Regions from separate parts of the Homo sapiens genome. Here region 2 is linked to region 1. Evidence: promoter capture Hi-C in human tissues and cell types (Jung and others, 2019). All regions are on one chromosome and are shown on one strand. The core of a region is centred on a gene start or on the middle of the fragment in contact, and the rest is flanking DNA. Distances in the headings are between cores, read along the strand shown.

The links. The method cuts DNA at HindIII sites, captures the fragments that hold promoters and counts their contacts. A contact is called where the count stands out against the background at its distance.
Region 2: a fragment that was not itself captured here is called in contact with the fragment with the promoter of HOXB9 in region 1 in 2 of the 25 tissues and cell types used here (IMR-90 fibroblasts and heart left ventricle).

The regions. Positions count from the first base shown.
Region 1 is chr17:48,625,061-48,627,682 of GRCh38, reverse strand. HOXB9 (homeobox B9) reads left to right here and starts at 1,325. Exons shown (of 2, transcript NM_024017.5): 1 at 1,325-1,930. The coding sequence starts at 1,414. RefSeq lists a silencer at 229-384 and an enhancer at 1,795-2,472. The HindIII fragment of the contact is 6,922 bases long and covers 1-2,622 here.
Region 2 is chr17:48,369,039-48,371,660 of GRCh38, reverse strand. All of the region lies in intron 2 of SKAP1 (src kinase associated phosphoprotein 1), which reads left to right. Among named protein-coding and RNA genes, the nearest start is that of SKAP1, 60 kb to the left of the region's middle. The HindIII fragment of the contact is 6,067 bases long and covers 1-2,622 here.

The DNA of each region.
Region 1 (2,622 bases), core at 76-2,575:
GAGGGGAAGAGACTGACCATGGGCTCGCTGTCCACACTGGCCCCTATATCGGTGTTTGGAAATCTCCAGAGCAGGAGCCTCAGGTGAGAGGAGTAGTACAGGAGGGCTGAAAACTCAGCCCAGGCTCCTTCCTCTTTGGATGGAAGGGGAGATAACTTGGGACCCCTTCCCTTGCTGACTGGGGATCCTTTCCCAGGCCTCTGCTCTGGTCACACCTCAGGAAAGTGGCCTTAACCCTTTCTCCTATTTAGCTCCCTCATCAGGGCAAATTTAGGGGCCTGGGTGGTTATTCAGTGGAGAAAAGGAGAAATGGCTTCCCTCACCCCCACCCCCCACGTCACCACCACCATCTTAAATCCATCCTTCTGGCCAGAGTCAGAGAAAGGCCCAATAAATGTAAAGGCGCTCTGGTTCCTTGTATTAAACTCTTTCCTAGGCTCACGTTTCCGGGACCTGATGGATCCCTTTAACCTCAAGTAGTTTCTAATTTCAGGACAGATAGTGGATTCTTGGACACTCAGTCGTTTTATTCACCTCTCTCCTCCTCCCTCAGCTACTGAGGGGCCCAGGGAAGCTCGCAGTCATGTAAATCTCTACAAAGAGTGCAAGGAGAGCCCCCTCCAAAGCGGACAACGTCCTAAAATCCCCAACTTTTCCCCTCATCATTTTACTTCATCTCCTGTGGATTGCTGCTGCTGTTGTTGTTTAATAAACATCTTTTGTCAAGGGGAAAGAGAAGAGGAAATGAGGGCCTGCGGGGTGGAGGTGTGTGTGGGGGGACAGGAGCACCTCCTCTTCCAGTATCCTCTCGGGCCTCTATGGCTTCTCCCCGGGCTGGGGCTCTCTCCCTCCCTCCGCCCTTGCTCTCCCTCCCTCCCCGACCCGCCTGGGGAGAGGGCTCTACAGCCTGCGTCCCTCCCAAGGCAGCCCGCCGCTTCCCTCCGCCTCTCCTCCGCCCCCGCCGCCCCATGTTGAGAACTGCCCCCCTTCCTGCAGCGGGAGGGGGGGACCGGGCGGCCGGTAGCTGGGGCTGAGGTTACGTGGCCGCCGGAGCCCTGACGTGATAGCACATTGCATCAGCATAAAACAATCCATCCTCGATATGGAGTGCGGTGCGGACGGATGACAGCGAGAGCGCAGCCCCCTCGCCCGATTGATTTATGTCGGAGCTGACGCTTTATCAGGCAGTCGGAAAAACTTTGACCAATCATTTTGCAAGGAGAGCTGAGACGGGCTGCTCCACTGTACTTTGTTGGCTGAGAAGTTGAGCAGGGGGTGGGGGTGGGAGGGTGGGGGGCTGGGGGGGTCGCGTCCGAAAGCCCTCACACCGGTCCGGGTGCCACCTCTCCCTGCTTGGGCGCCGCCGCGCGAGCGCTTCCCTTCCCCCTGCAAGCGCCCGGATAATGTCTGAGAATGTCCATTTCTGGGACGCTTAGCAGCTATTATGTCGACTCGATCATAAGTCACGAGAGTGAGGACGCGCCTCCAGCCAAGTTTCCTTCTGGCCAGTACGCGAGCTCGCGGCAGCCGGGCCACGCGGAGCACCTGGAGTTCCCCTCGTGCAGCTTCCAGCCCAAAGCGCCGGTGTTCGGCGCCTCCTGGGCGCCGCTGAGCCCGCACGCGTCCGGGAGCCTGCCGTCCGTCTACCACCCTTACATCCAGCCCCAGGGCGTCCCGCCGGCCGAGAGCAGGTACCTCCGCACCTGGCTGGAGCCGGCGCCGCGCGGCGAAGCGGCCCCGGGGCAGGGCCAGGCGGCGGTGAAGGCGGAGCCGCTGCTGGGCGCGCCTGGGGAGCTGCTCAAACAGGGCACGCCCGAGTACAGTTTGGAAACTTCGGCGGGCAGGGAGGCCGTGCTGTCTAATCAAAGACCCGGCTACGGGGACAATAAAATTTGCGAAGGAAGCGAGGACAAAGAGAGGCCGGATCAAAGTAAGTTATAAAAAGTGAGGAAATACCCAGGCCGAAGGCCAGGAGGGGGGCGGGGAGGGGAAAGGCAATAAACTGCGGACAATGTGAAGGGAAACTGCGGCGGTGGCCGGAGAGCGGGCCGGGAGGAGGAGGGGAGAGGAAGGAAAGACGGAGGGAAGGGGAAAGCTGCGTGCTCTAGAAGGGGAGACTGAGGCCGCCAGAGGAGCGCTGCCCCCACTTCTCCAAGTCCTGCGGGGAACAGGGGCTCGGGGATCGACTTGCAGCTCTCTCGGCCCTCTTTCCCCCTCTCTCCCGGAGGCCCCAGCTGAAAGCCCGGCCAGAGACCGGCGACGGCCGGGAGAGGAGCTGGCGGGGGCCGGGGCCAGCGGCCAGCGAGGCCGAGAGCCGGCGAGGGCAAGGGCCGGAGCGCACTGGGCTGCCCGGGGCCGTGCGGCTGGCAGAGCTCCCCGCGCCACGCGCAGACCGTAAAAGCCGGCCAAGGGGAAGGGGGAGGGAGCTCATTAGGATTTTATTTGCGATGCAACAGCTTGGCGGAGGATTGTTCCTAGCAGATCTCGCGCTGTAGCCGCGCAGAGTCCGCAACCGGCGACAGGAGGGGCGGGGGAAGCCCAGGACGCGGTGACTGAGCCCCCTCCCCGGATGCGCCGGCCCCTCCCCGGGAGCCTTCCCTCCGGTGGCCCCTCTCCTCCTCG
Region 2 (2,622 bases), core at 76-2,575, 260 kb after region 1:
TTTTTTGTGGAGACAAGGTTTCACCATGTTACCCATGGCTGGTCCCGAACTCCTGGATCCAAGCAACCTACCTGCCTTGGCCTCCCAAAGTGCTGGGATTACAGGTGTGAGCCACCACACCTGACCAGTATTTCTAATAATATGAGGATAGCTACAGTTGTTTGTCTGACCTGTTTCATCAGGATCTATCTAATTAGCTGACTGAGGGAATAAAGCTCTGAGTACTTTAATCTCAATAACTATGTTCTTTGGTTAGCTCCATGGCCAAGAATCTGATATTCTCTCCCTTGCAATCTGTTGATTTAGATTCAGTAGCCCTATTTTCAGCAGAAGCCTGACAATGTTTTCTGTGAATTGTTTATTTTTTACAATTTCAACTTTTATTTTGGACACAGGGGGTACATGTGCAGGTTTGTTACAGGGTATATAGTGTGATGCTGAAGCTTGGGATACAAATGATCCCATCACCCAAATAGTGAGCATAGTACCCAATAATTTTTCAACTCCTACCCCTCTTTCTCTTTCCCCATCTCTATTAGTCCCTAGTATCTATTGCTCACACCTTTATGTTCATAAGTACCTAATGTTTAGCTCCCGCTTATAAGTGAGAACATGCAGTATTTGGTTTTCTGTTTCTGCATTAATTTGCTTAGAATAATGGCCTCCAGCTGCATCCATCTTGTTGAAAAGGACGTGATTTCATTGTTTATTATGGCTGCATCATAGTCCATGGTGTATATATGCCATATTTAAAAAAATCTAATCCACTGTTGATGGACACCTAGGTTGATTCCATGTCTTTGCTATTATGAATAGCACTGTGATGAACCTACAAGTGCATATGTCTTTTTGGTAGAATGATTTATTTTCTTTTGGATATATACCCAGTAATGGGATTACGGGGTTGAATGGTAGTTCTGTTTTAAGTTCTTTGATAAATCTCCAAACTGCTTTCCACAGCAGCTAAACTAATTTACATTCCCACCAACAATGTATAAGTGTTCCTTTTCTCCACAGCCTCACCAGCACCTGTTGTTTCTTGACTTCTTAATAATAACCATTCTGGCCAGGTGTGGTGGCTCACGCTTGTAATCCGAGCACTTTGGGTGGCTGAGGCGGGCTTGAGCTCAGCAGTTTGAGACCAGCCTAGGGCAACATTGAGAAACCTTGTCTCTACAAAAAATACAATAATTAGCCAGGTGTGATGGCACGTGCTGCTCCCAGCTACTGGGAGGCTGAGGTGGGGAGGATTGCTTGAGCCCAGGAAGTTGAGGCTGCAGTAAGCCATGATCACGCCACAGCACTCCAGCATAGGTGACAGGGCGAGACCCTGTTTCAAAAAAATATAATAATAATGATAGCCATTCTGATTGGTGTGAGATGGTTTTGATTTGCATTTCTCTGATGATTAGTAATGTTGAGCATTTTAATATATTCGTTGGCCACTTGTGTGTCTTCTCTTAAGAAGTGTCTGTTCATGCTTTTTGCAAACTTTTTAATGGCGTTGTTTTTTACTTGTCCGATTAAGTTCTTTATAGACTCTGTGAATTTGGGGTGGCAACCTAGAACTGTGTGTTTGCAGTATGAAAGATACTGAAATATATCTGTAGACGAATCATATCTATTATAGTCATCATTTCATCCATAGTACCTGGGCAAAGGGCTTGTCATAGAAGACATTCAATAAATATTGAATTGGTTGACTGAGTCACTGAATTATTTTAGAATAGTAAAATATCTTTAGAGAAAGACTCAGTTAATTTTGATGATTGTTTTAATTGTTAGATTATATTTTCAAGACTTTCCTCCTTAGTTTCTCATTAGAGGTCCTGTTCTGAAACTGATTGTTGGTGGTGGAAACTTGTCCACTTGTCCATTAGCTTTCTTATGATGGGTAAGTTATTTAATCCTTGATGCCTCAGTTTTCTTATTTAGAAAATGGGCATAATAATAGGGTTAGAGTGTGAGGAAATGGGTTAATGTAAGAAAAGTGCTTAGAGCAACATCCAACAAAATGTTCAATAAATCTTAGCATTGTTATTAGCACTACTGTTATTACTACTACAGTGACTGCTGCTTATCAAGATTCCCTCAATACTGTGGGTTCAATTTATTTGTACCTTTCTCCAAACTAAAGTTCATTTTTTATTTTTTACTTTTTTTTTTTTTTGAGAGAGGGTCTCACTCTGTTGCCCAGGCTGGAGTGCAGTGGTGCAATCATGGCTCACTGTAGCCTCAACCTCGCAGGCTCATGCAATCCTCCCACCTCAGCCTCCTCAGTAACTGGGACTGCAGGTGCACACCACCACACCCAGCTAATCTTTGTACTTTTTGTAGAGACAGGGTTTTGCCATGTTGTCTAGGCTGGACTCAAACTCCAGGGCTCAAGCAATATACCCACCTTGGCCTCTCTTAGTGCTTGGATTACAGGTGTGAGCCACTGCATCTGACCTAAAGTTCAGTTAAAACATCTTTATTTTATATTTATTTATTTATTTATTTATTTATTTATTTTGAGATGGAGTCTGTCTCTGTTGCCAAGGCTGGAGTGCATGGCGCGATCTCGGCTCACTGCAACCTCTGCCTCCTGAGTTCAAGTGATCCTCCTGCCTCCGACTCCCA